Regions from separate parts of the Homo sapiens genome. Here region 1 is linked to region 2. The links are contacts of gene promoters, found by promoter capture Hi-C in human tissues and cell types (Jung and others, 2019). All regions are on one chromosome and are shown on one strand. The core of a region is centred on a gene start or on the middle of the fragment in contact, and the rest is flanking DNA. Distances in the headings are between cores, read along the strand shown. Region 1 holds the start of CCL27 (C-C motif chemokine ligand 27). Region 2 overlaps DNAI1 (dynein axonemal intermediate chain 1).

Evidence for each region. Contacts are between HindIII fragments. The study calls those that stand out against the background at their distance.
Region 1: the fragment with the promoter of CCL27 here is called in contact with a fragment that was not itself captured in region 2 in 1 of the 25 tissues and cell types used here (mesenchymal stem cells).

Annotation. Positions count from the first base shown.
Region 1 is chr9:34,659,777-34,666,166 of GRCh38, reverse strand. CCL27 (C-C motif chemokine ligand 27) reads left to right here and starts at 3,510. Exons shown (of 3, transcript NM_006664.4): 1 at 3,510-3,603; 2 at 3,751-3,883; 3 at 4,088-4,277. The coding sequence starts at 3,534. The coding sequence ends at 4,223. It overlaps IL11RA (interleukin 11 receptor subunit alpha), which reads right to left. Exons shown (of 13, transcript NM_001142784.3): 9 at 6,267-6,390; 10 at 5,774-5,893; 11 at 5,567-5,663; 12 at 5,231-5,313; 13 at 4,265-4,685. The coding sequence ends at 4,669. It overlaps LOC730098, which reads left to right and starts at 122. Exons shown (of 3, transcript NM_001320038.2): 1 at 122-554; 2 at 794-853; 3 at 977-2,004. The coding sequence starts at 508. The coding sequence ends at 1,133. It also overlaps a transcript of PHF24 not described here. RefSeq lists a silencer at 548-797 and an enhancer at 6,038-6,390. The HindIII fragment of the contact is 14,352 bases long and covers 1-5,413 here.
Region 2 is chr9:34,463,196-34,469,485 of GRCh38, reverse strand. The region is part of intron 1 of DNAI1 (dynein axonemal intermediate chain 1); the gene reads right to left. Among named protein-coding and RNA genes, the nearest start is that of DNAI1, 7.5 kb to the right of the region's middle. The HindIII fragment of the contact is 7,861 bases long and covers 1-6,290 here.

The sequences.
Region 1 (6,390 bases), core at 2,261-4,760, 200 kb before region 2:
TCACCCCGTAAGATGACGTTTCGACTCCGCCTCCTCTGGGAGACATGAACACCCCACCCCTTCCGGGGGACAGGCAAACCTAGTGCGCAACGGCATCCCTGTGACGTAATAGTAACGGTCCGTTTCCGGGGTGGAGCCAGGGAGGGCGGGAGTTTAGGCTGCGCTGACCCCTCTCAGCCCCCCCTCCAGGTGACCCCAGCCCCTGAAAATCCTCACCCAGGGCCCCAAATCTCCCAGCCCCATGACCGCCAAACCTCTCGCCCTGGCCCCCTAAATGCCCCAGGCCCCGGAGATGACCGGCCTCCTCACCCCTTAACTTCCAGTGCCTCCCAAATCTCCAAGCCCACCCTGTCCCGTGGTGGCAACTGAGGCTTCTCGGGGGCATCAGCCTCAGATTACCTGAGAACTGGGCAGCCTCGTCCTGAGAATGACGGAGAAGGGGACCTGGGGCTAGGGAATCCCTGATTCAATCATGCCGCTCCCCAGGAGACGTTCGGAGCCCAGGACATGTCGGGAATGAGGAGATACGAGGTGGCGCTGGAGGCGGAGGAGGAGTGAGTGGAGGCGGGTTCTGCGGAGGAGGAACCAGGCGGCTCCGGGGTGGGGGAGGGTGGAGTTCTGCGGGGGCGAGGGGTGGGCAGGGCGAGCCTCCCAGGGGCGTGGGCGCGAAGGGAGCCGCTTTTAGAGGCGGGGCGGAGCCTTCCTCGACGGCGAGGCACCGCGGGGCGGAGTCTGTAGGGTCAGCTCCTCCCCGCCCCGCCCCGCCCCGCCCGGCTCTGCCCTCTCTCTGCAGGATCTACTGGGGCTGTTTCTACTTTTTCCCCTGGCTTCGCATGTGGCGGAGGGAGCGGAGGTGAGGAGGCTGCGATACCGCGGACCCGCCCCGGGCATGGACGGGACTCAGTCTCTGAGGACCCATCGGGGGGAATCCGGTAGCTCCCGCCCCGCCTCATGCCAGTGTCGGGTCGCCCCACAGCTCGGCGCACCCCGGGGAGCAGAAGCTGGAGCCTCTGCGAGGCCTGATGAGCTGTCTGTCCAGCGGCCTGGGTCCTACTCCCCAGCGCTCGGGTCGTGGCTTCCCCCGCCGCAGCCCCACCGCCGCTGCCCAGCCAGCCAGTGCATTAAAGATTTAAACCGAAGCCCACCGTACTGACCTCCTGACTCTGCCGCCGCTGTCGCCATTCGAGCCGAGCGCCCCTCCCCACACGGGCTCTGTTCCGTACTGACAGGGCGTCCCTCCCTGGAAGGGTGCCCTTCCACGTCAAAGCCCCTCATCAGTGTCAGGCCTCCTGTTACTATCAATGGCTGTCTCCCCCAATCCCAACCCCCAAAAACCCATACTGTGAGTCGCCTATATGAAGAGAACTAAATAATCCTGCCTGTTACTCCCTTCCTCGGAGCGAGGACTTTGCCAGCTGTCTGAAGAATCTTCTCTGCTGGGAGTATATCTAAAACATTTTAAGCAGAGGTGTAGGATGCAGGCTGTAAATGGTAAGAGGGGGAGATTCCTAGAAGCTGCCTGCCACAGAGGAGCGACTTGGGTTGGCGACCTTTCCTACAGTTCATACCCCAACTTTTGGCTCCTCCAGTCTGATCCCAAGTTTAGAGATCCTTGGCATCAGCCTACCTAGAAGTTCTTGCTCCCTCCCTAGGAGAGTCCAAGGGCCACTGCTCTTTGCCGCCCCCTTCTGTCACCCAATCAGCCTGGGACCCACTAACTCCTCAAGTGGTGAGAATCAGGGACTGCTATGTGGGCCTGCCTTCAGTTAGGGACTGGACCCAGCACCAGAAAGGGCACCACAAGATTAAGTTAAAGAAAGAGATGGCCCAGTTTCTGGCTGGGGCCAAAGCTACAGCAGATTGTGGCTGGGGAGAAGACTTGGTCTTAAAGGGGAGAGATGGGTGCACACCCAAAAGCATTTGTTTTCTGCCTTCCGAAGACTTCTGGACCGACAAGCCCAGGGAAGACCAGAAAGTATGTAGCGCACAGCCAAGTGATGAAGAAGGTCTATGACAAGCCCGAGGAACCTGGGAGATTTCCTTGGGATTTCCTCAGTGGCTACACCCAACAAGCCTTGGGACACAAGAGAAAGGCCTAAGCCCTATCCCAAGAGAAAGCCTACTCCATAGAGAGTGGCTGACCCTACAGCAGACGACTGCAACAAGATAAGGGCTGGATTACTGTGTTATGACTTGGTTTATGTTTCAAATATAGAGCAGGACTTGCAGATTGAGATCCCTGGACCAGGAGTGGGAAATTCTTAAAGGAGCCAGGGGCACTGAACTTGGCAGCATACCCCCACCCTAGGCAGCTCCCAGCTTCCTGGAAAGGACTGGATAAAGATGAATAGGAGCTTTGCATTGCAGGGAGGGGGTAAAGAACGGAGTGACAGCTGGGTATGGGATTAGGAGAGAAGCGGCTATAGCTGGAGGGTGGGATGCAGGGGGTATAGCAGTTGGACATGAGGGTGTGACTGAACCCGGGTAGGGAGAGGGGATGTTCCTCCAGGCCCAGGAAGGAGGCTGGAATTTGAGTAAAACAAAGATGTAATTGAGTGCTTGAGTCCAATGTCTTCAACAAGTCAGGGACTGGATCTGGAGACCCTAGGCCCCTGCTGGCAAGAGGTTGGCATTCCTGGAACAGGACTAGACAAAAACAGGAAGGTAAGATTCACTGGGCCTTTTACCTGTTTTGACAACAGTAACCTAGCACCAAAGAGCTTTTATCTTCCCTCCTTATCTACCCCACCTTTCCTCCCTGTCTCATCATCCTGGGGAAAGCTGCCCCACCTCAGCATCTCCAAAACACCCTTAATATTACCATAAAGGGCCTTCCCCCAGCTTCTCTGAATGGGGCTGGCCTCAGCCAAGAACCCTCCTCAGCCAGAAGGGCCTGCTCTAGGGACCCATTCCCATCCATTTCTTCTGATAAGACAGGCAGGCCAAGCCAGGAAGTGGGGAGGAGAAGGTGAAGGCAAGTTGGTGCTTGCCTGCCCTCTGCTCCCACCCCACCCACAACTCCCCTGTCAGAATCTGTGTGTGCTAGTGTGAATTTGCTTGTGATTGGATGACTGTGAAAACACAATTGGGTGGGAGAGGGACTTTGAGTATAACCGGGGCTATATAATTTTGTCTACGGTTGTCTGATCATGAGTATGACTTTGTGAGGTTGACCAAGTGATTGAGGAGTGACTTTGAATGTGTGGCTATGCGTATTTGAGTGTGAATGTCTATCATTAGATGCTGCTGTGGATGCTTGACTGCCCTTACTCACTGTTCCATCAGTCCCTACATCACACACTAATCCTTCCCCCAGCTTCACTGCCCAGAGCTTAGGAGCACATGGGAAATGGCTATCCTAGATGAGGAAGGAGTCTGTGGCAACAGGCCGAGAATTAGGGCCCAGGAGTGTCACAGGTTACACAGTACATCTCCAACTGCCTCTGACTCACCTAGTGCCCCAGGTAAAAGGCACCCAGATAAAAGGTAGGGGAGGAGGAGAGAGAGAGAAGGAAGAGTCTAGGCTGAGCAACATGAAGGGGCCCCCAACCTTCTGCAGCCTCCTGCTGCTGTCATTGCTCCTGAGCCCAGACCCTACAGCAGGTGAGTACTTGGGGGTATAGAAAGCTGGGGGTCTGGGTGAATGGGATGAAGTTGAAAAGACCCAGGAAATCCAACCTAACCTCCAGCTGTCTGGCAGAGAGGTTCTTGGTCAGGATCCCTCTGAACACATGGCCCTGTTGCCCCTAGCATTCCTACTGCCACCCAGCACTGCCTGCTGTACTCAGCTCTACCGAAAGCCACTCTCAGACAAGCTACTGAGGAAGGTCATCCAGGTGGAACTGCAGGAGGCTGACGGGGACTGTCACCTCCAGGCTTTCGTGTGAGCTCCCACCCCTGATACCCCTGACTCTGACCTCAGTCCCAACCCCTAATGCTGATCCCAACCCCAGCCCTAACTGCTAATTCTGTTGCCAACTCAGGTTTTCATCTGGTCCTTGCTCCTAACCCCTAATTAGGGTCATTGGGGATGACCCTAATCTCATCCCCAAGCTATGGTCATAGCTTTGGACCTTTCTCTACCCAGGCTTCACCTGGCTCAACGCAGCATCTGCATCCACCCCCAGAACCCCAGCCTGTCACAGTGGTTTGAGCACCAAGAGAGAAAGCTCCATGGGACTCTGCCCAAGCTGAATTTTGGGATGCTAAGGAAAATGGGCTGAAGCCCCCAATAGCCAAATAATAAAGCAGCATTGGATAATAATTTCTGAGTATAATCTCCAAGAACTTCCTTATTCTCTTTATTCACACCTGCACAACCCCTGCAAGGGGAAAGGCCAAGAGCCAAGGACCCACACACACTCCCCAGGCACCTACATACATGCATGCAGAGAATACATGTTCCCTGCCTCACAGACACATGGTCACACATGGACACAGATGTACACATTACACACGTTCCTTGAGCAGAACTCCAACTCTGGGGTGAAATCAGAGGTACAAGCACCTTTCAGCTGCAAATTTGAAATACAGGGTCTCACAGAAATGGGCTCCAAACAGAACTTCCAGCTGAGATCCAACCATAGGGATCTACTGTCCTGCCTGGTTTCTATCCACACCAGCAAGACAGAATTATAGGTGGAATCTGCCGAAGCCCTCCTGGGTCCTCTACAGGTTTGGAGCTCCTAGAAGAAGCAGGAGGCAAATCAGGAGAGACAGTAAGACCGGATCTTGGCCCAGACACCCTGAGAATGAGGGAGGTGACTCAGTTCTAAGCTTAACACTCTGAAGATGAGTAGAGGAGCCCAGCTCTGAGGGAGCCTCTTCAACACACTGAAGATACGGGAGTGGACCTAGCTCTGGGCCCAGGCACATTAAGAATGAAGGAGGGGACCTAGCACTGATCCAAGACACCTTGAAAAAAAAGGATGAATATCCAGCTCTGAGTCTAATACCCTGGAAGAGTATTAGTACTAATACTAATACCCTGAAGGGAAGTCCACCTGGGGTCCTTCCTCAGTACCCTGAGAGGAGGGAAAGAGACCCACTTCTGAGCCCAGGGACTCAAGAATGAAAGGCCCAGCCCTCAGCCTAGACATCATTAAAATGAGGAGACCCAACTTGGATTCCCAGCATGTTTTAAAATGACTAGGGCAGCCAGCTCTTAATCTGGACACTCAAAATAGGGGCAAACATCTCCAAGTCCAAATCTTCTGGATGTCCTACTCACCTGGACGCCTGTCCACTGGAATCACTGAGGCCAAGAACCCAGGCTTTGGGGATCCATCCTTCCCACCCCGTCTCAGCCTCAGCCTGGGGCATAGAAAGGCAGCTGTCTCTCCAACAATGTGGGTTATCTCAGTCTCCGCCAAAGGGTTTATTAGTAAAGGGTCAGGAGAGGAATCAGTTAAAATCAAGTGGGGCATGGGGGATGGAGGTATGGGGAGGTAGTTCCAGAATCAGACAGGTTCAGCGGGCAGTCATGAAGGGTGGAGATGAATGTGGTCTATGGGCATCAGAGCATGTGTGAGGATCAGAGGCTGAGGGACCAATGGCAGTCACTTACCAGAGCCCCAGTGCCAGGGCCCCAGCCACCAGTCCCAGGAAAGAAAGGATTCCCAAAGACGCCAGCACAGCTACCTGCTCCACAGAGTCCCTGTGATCTGAGGGGGAGGGCCACATGTCACTGAGAGCAAGCCTGACCAAGCTCGGTGTCCCCTTTTCTCTGGGGTTTTCAGTCCTTTACAAGTCTTGCCCATCTGCCCAAGCTCACCAAGTAGCCGAGGGTGTGGTTGGAGGGAGGGCCTTGGAGGAGCAGGGCTGTCCACCTGAGGCTCCACCTCTGGCTGCGTGTGTAGCTGGCCCCATGCTGGTATCTCCTTTGGTATGGTCCCTAAAGGAAGGCAAGACCCAATAAGTGTCCATACGCTGGTGGGGACGGGGGTCACGTCCTGTGCTCAAGGCCAAGGCCTAGGTTGGAAGTCAAGGTACCTAGGAGGAGGAGCCTGATAGGGCATGGCCAGCTCCTAGGGAGCATGGCAAGCTCCAAGCTTGTAGAAGTGGAGCCTGTAACTGCAGGGGTGGAGGCCAAGGGGCAGGACTTAAGCTAAGACAGGGCTGTAGGCAAACAAGTCTGAAGTCTGGGACAGCAATTGCCGTGCCTGTGTGGGCAGGGCATGTGCCACCTGCCTGTCTTTTGGAACTGGTTCAGCTGATAGATGCTTTGGGATGGGGCCTCTGCCCTTTTCTTTGGCTTTGTCTCTCACCAGTGCTCGGAGTTCCCCAGGCCTCCGGGCTCCAGGTGCTCCAGGTGCCAGCATCTAGAAAGTCCCGGGCACTGACTCGTACAGCATGGGGCAGCCCAGCCACAGCATCTGTGATCACCTCCTC
Region 2 (6,290 bases), core at 2,386-4,885:
AGACCAGCCTAGGCAACATAGTGAGACCCTGTCTCTATATATTAAAAAAAAAATTAGCTGGGCTTAGTGGTGCATGCCTGTGGTCCCAGCTACTTGGCAGGCTGAGGCAGGAGGATCACTTGAGCCCAGGAGGTCAAGTCTCCAGTGAGCTGTGAGCATGCCATTGCACTCCAGCCTGGGTGACAGAGTGGGACCTTGTCTCAAAAAAAAAAAAAAAAAAAAAAAGCCATTCCATTGTCTTCTGGCCTACATTGTTTATGGTGAGAAGTCAACCACAATTCATATAATTGTTTCCCTGTATGCAATTTGTCATTTTTCTTTGGCTACTTCCAAGGTTTTAGTTTTATCTTTGGTTTTCAGTAGTTTGACTATAAAAGACCTAGATGTGGTTTTATTTGTATTTATCCTGCTTGGGGCTCACTGAGTTTCTGATAGTCCTATATGTTTTCCACCAAGTTCAGAAAACTTTTGACCATTATTTCTTCAAATATTTTTTCTTCCTCTTTTTCCCTCTGGCATTCCAACTACACCCATGTTCCAAATACATATATAATATATTCCATAGCTCACAAAGGCCCTCTCTTTTATTATTATTATTTTTTAGTGGAGCCTCAGTAACAGGGCACCTGTTTTTTCTTTTTCTTTTCTCTTTTTTTTTTTGAGACAGGGTCTCACTCTGTCACCCAGACTGCTTTGCAGTGGCACAGCCGCAGCTCACTGCAGCCTTGATCTCCTGGGTTCAAGCTATCCTTCCACTTCAGCCTCCCACATAGAGGGACCACAGGGGCATACCACCACGCCTGGCTAATTTTTAAATTTTTTGTAGAGACGAGGTTTTTTTTATGTTGCCCAGGTTGGTCTCAAACTTCTGGGCTCAAGTGATCCTCCCGTCTCATCCTCCCAAAGTGCTGGGATTATAGGTATGAGCCACCATGCCCAGCCAGGCTCTCTTTTTACAAGAAAAACAAAACAAAACAAAACAAAACAAAACCTTCTTGGCCGGGCGTGGTGGCTCACGCCTGTAATCCCAGCACTTTGGGAGGCCAAGACTGGTGGATCAGGAGGTTAGGAGATCGAGACCATCCTGGCTAACATGGTGAAACCCCGTCTCTACTAAAAATACAAAAAAAAAAAAAAATTAGCCAGGCGTGGTGGCGGGCGCCTTAGTCCCAGCTACTCGGGAGGCTGAGGCAGGAGAATGGCGTGAACCTGGAAGGAGGAGCTTGCAGTGAGCCGAGATCGCGCCACTGCATTCCAGCCTGGCAGACAGAGCGAGACGCCATCTCAAAAAAAAAAAAGCCTTCTTCCTCTCTGTTCTTCAGATTAAATAATTTCCATGGATCCATCTTCACATTCAGCTGTTAGGCCTATCCAACGAATTTTTTATTTCTGATATTGTATTTTTCTACTGTTTCCATTTTTCTGCTTAGATTCTCCATCCGTGCATCCATTAAAACAATATTTCCTTTATGTCCATAAATATATTTATAACAGCTGCTTTAAAGACATTGCCTGCTAATTCCAACATCTGTGTTACTCCCTGGTACTATCATGCTCTCCTTTGGATCTACCTCTCTGAGCCATGATCAAGAAATTGTCCTTAGGCAGAGAGCAAGGGTAAATGTGTGACTCACGTTGAGTGTTTTCCTTCCCTCAGGAATCACTGTCCTATGTTGTCTATTGTCCAATACCGAAAAACATTAGTGTCATATATTGTGTCCAGGCTTACTGCTGTTTACAGTGTGAGGGAAAGTCCAGTGTAGATTTCTGCACCATGGCCAGAATATAAATCCCCTAAATCAAGGTCTTTAAGGTTATATATATACTGCATTTTATTTATTTATTTATTTTAGAGACAGGTTCTCACTCTGTTGCCCATGCTGGAGTGCAGTGGTAACAATCATAGCTCACTGGAGTCTTGAACTCTTGGGCTCAAGGGATCCTCCCGCCTCAGCCTCCTGAGTAGCTGGGACTACAGGTGCATGCAACCTGGCTAATTTGTGGTGTGTGTGTGTGTGTGTGTGTGTGTGTGTGTGTGTGTGTGTATTTGTGTAGAGATGGGGTCTTGCTGTGTTGTCCAGGCTGGTCTCAAACTCCTAGGCTCAAGTGATCCTCCTGCCTCAGCCTCCCAAAGTGCTAGGATTACAGCCATGAGCCATCATGCCTGGCCTGTGTGCTGTATTTTAAAATTCATTGCAGAAATGTGCTATTTTTAAAACCCTATAGTAAAGGCTTTTGTAAAGGACAGGACCTTTTGTAATGTAAATATCAGCCCTGAATGAAAGCATTGGACTAGAAGAAATCTGAGGCCCCTGAGGCCCCTTCCCGCACAATTCATGAGAAAGAGATTTACCAGAAACAATATGGAAGTTACTTTAGAGTAAAGCGAGTTATATCTTCCACTGGAGGAGCTGAGCAAAGAGAATACCTCCTTCTAGCTTTGGTTGCTTAAAGAGCCATAGGATCTTGTCCCTTGCTGACATTGCCTAGCATGAACAGATGAGCTAGGGTCAATCAGATTCCCTCCTTAAGAATTTGAACTAGGACTACAGGGAGAACCAGCAGTTGGATGGAGATATTCATGGAAATGTTTGTGAGGTAGAGAGGTCAGAACAGTTATGATAAGCTGGAAACAGACTAAAATTATGAGGGAGCGGAGACCATGGAAATCTGGCCAGTTGGGAAATAAGAATAAGAATGAAACATAGTTGTTAAGAGAAATAGAGAGGCTGTGAGAGATGTGGAGAAAGTAGTTGGTCCCTATACCTGTTTCAGAATTAATTGTTTTCCAATTTCAATTCTAGGTTATCTATGTACTTATAATAACCATCTGTAACTCCCCACATATATACCTTCTCCCTTCTCTCATCCTCTTTTATCTGAGGTAACTTGAGTGAGCCTCTGTTCTTTGTAACTTAAAGAGCTTAACTAAAGTAATGTGTCTTAGAGTTTGCCAGGTCTGTAAAGGGCAGAAAGAGAAGAGAAGACTTGGGCATTCCATGCAGAGGGAACAAAATAATTAACAAAGACACAGAGGCACAGAAGCAGATGACTCTCCAAGGAGCAGCAGATTATTTTGTCCATATACACTCCAGTTTGTTCCCAAATAAGATTTGAGGCTGAATACATGACACATTGAGAAAATAAGTAAATGAGCAAATGGATGTGATGTAAGAATAAAAGTAGAAAAATAAGCTTAACATTAGGGGTAGGGTCCCTACATAATTAATAGGATTAGGCTGCTTTAACTAGGATAAAGGAGGCATGAATTGCTTCTTCTGCAGGCCAAGAAAGAAAAGTTAGTGTTCAGAGTAGTGCAGTACATACCTTCCCATCACTCATTTATTCACTCATCAACTAACTCATTCAGTCATTATTCATTCATTCAGCATTTATTAAGCATCTACTATGTGCCAGGTCCTCGGATGACGGCTAAAGAGGAACCAAGATTGAGTTGGTTCTCACACCCAGGGTTCTCAATCTAGGAGGTGAGATAAATGGAGGACATAAATCCACCATACAAACCAGAATCCAGTGACTCTATGAGTAGGACAAAGCGTTGTGAGACTCAAACCAGTGAAACTAAAGTTACAACAGCTGTGTCCTTTGCTTGCTTCTTGCATACAACTCTGTCAGTGCTCAGTGACTGCAAAGATTGAACACTTGATACAAATTCCTAACTGGCAGAAAACAATTTCATGTGGCTTGCTCACAGCTGGAGCCAGAGAGTCAACATTACTCCTCAGCATCAACTTGCAGGCTGCAAAGCCCAGCAACGAGCACAGGAGCCCTCTGCCATTATTATTTGAGTACCTGGCATGTACTGAGTGCTAACAATGTGCTAGGCCCCCTAGTACACAGGGGAGGAAAACAAATTCTGGCCTCAAATGCTCACAGCTGTTTTGTAATCTGATAATTGTGCATGACAAACCTCAGACCATAACTCTGAAAATAGCATGACTATAATCATAACAAAATGGAACTGCCATTGGCAAAAATTGTTTTCTAGTTATCACTTCCAGAAGGAATTCCATTAACACAACTAGGGGAAAAGAAGAAAAAACTGTCTCAGCTTTCTGCTGCTAAACCTCAAAATTATCATCAACTGCATCCATCCCTTCTCCTGTCCTGTTACAAAGTGTGCCTCCTCCTGTCCACAACATCATCTCCTCAGAGACTTGGCTCTAGTCATTATTTAATCTTTCTCCTTTATCTTCAACTTCTCTCTCCGTTCAGGATCCTTCCCCTCAGCATTTAATATATTCAAGTCTGTCATCTTAAAAAAACAATCTTTGCCTACATAGTTCTTACTGCCTTCTTAGCTCAATTCAGTTTAGCTTTTCACTCTGAAATTGTCCTTTCCAAGGTCCCCAATAACTTCCAAGTTATTAAATCTAATAGTTATATCTTAGTGTTTATCTTCATTGACACCTTAGCAACATGCAACTTGGCTGACCATACAGTTTCACTGAAACACATTCTTCCTTTGGCTTCTGGGATATTATTTTTCCTTGTTGTCTTCTTACTTCTCTGATTACTCCTTCTTATTCTCCATTTTGGACTCTTCTTCTTCTATCCAAACCTTAAATACTGGTGGTCCCCCCAGAAGTCTTCCCTAATTCCCCCAGAATCAGAATGAAGACCCCCTACCACATGCTTCCATAGAACCCTGTGCTACTTCCCCAACCACAGTTGATCACTCATTCAACATTCATCAAGAGCTTCTGACGTCATCATGGCCACTGTTTTAGGGGCTGAGAATACAGATATAAGCAAAAACATCCACAGGCCCTGCTCCCAAGGAGCTCACAGTCTAATGGGGGAGACATACAATAATCAAATAATTACACAAATAAGTGAATAATTACAAACCGTGATGCATGCTATGGAAGAAAGGAACACAGAGCAATGAGACTATATAACAGAGGAAACTTACCCTACCTTCCATAACGGGGCAGGGGGCATTGGGGGCAGGTTGTGGGGATTGATTTGGGGGCTGAAATCTTAGGAGTGAGTACATGTGTGAGGGAGGGTGTGAAAAGCATTCCAGAAAGGGGGCAGCACATAGAACTAAGGTACAGCAATAATGGAGAAGAGTGGTACAAATTAAGGTATAGAGACCCAGGTAGGTCTCAGGCCCATTCAGGTCTCTGGAGCGATTGTCTAAAAATCTGGTCCCTATCCTAAGAGCAATGGGAAGTCACTGAAGTGTTCTGAGTGGGGGATGGCACAATCAGATTGACAGTTTGAAAAGATCACTTTTCATGCAGTGTAGAGAATGGACTGGAAAGGGCACGAGTGAATGAGGGAAGACTAGTTACTAGGCTTTTACAGCACTCTTTGGTGAGAGACGATTGTAAGCTGGGCTAGGGAGGTGGCAGTGTATATGAAAAAAAGTAGTTTAATTTGAGAGATATTTAAGAGGTAAGGGAGTAAAAGATCATATCTAGGGCTTAAGGAATATATGTGTAAGAATGACACTGAGGTCACAGGAGTGAAGCTATCTTACTTTGGACATACAGAAACACATCAACTTCCCCTACATTCTGTTCACCTCCTATCTTTTCATCTGTGGATACCAGGCCCCATCACCAGGCTCAAAATCTCTGAATCATCCAAGACTCTCTTCTGGCCTTATGCCCAACCCTGCCCACTCACTCCTACCTTAGTCACCCCTAATCTAGATCAATATTTCTAAAAGTATTGCACCATAGGAGCCTCTTGAGAGACCACAAAATGATCCAAAATGAAAGTCTTTTCTTTGGCTTTTACAGGAGAATGATGTAAAATTCCAGACTTTGATTTTTTTTTTATGGTAACCAACTGAGTTATAAAGAGGTACTAAAATTTGTTAGTCATAAACTAAAATTAGCTTTTAACTGGAGTTCACAGAAGATTCTAATTCGGTTTTCTACTAAGAAGTTTAGCTGCCAGGCAATGTTTGGCAACGCTGCAAAGCTCCTCCTGTACATGTATACATGCAGCCAGTTGGCACTCTCACAATTTTCAGGAAGGACGCTTTGCTATTGGGGCATTACCAGTGATGTTTTGAGCTGGTCATGGTTTATGGTTCCTGACATTCAAGCATTTTAATTACAAATTATGATTTATGGAGCTCCATAATGACCAATTTAATATGCCATGGGTTATTTGATTAACTCTATAGGGTAGGGGAAGGTACCTCTTTGACCTTATCTCCTGCCACATTCCCCACTCCCTTCCTTGCTGATCCAGAACATGTGTAGCAGGCTCCCATCTCAGGGACTTTATACTTGCTATGCCGTCTGTCT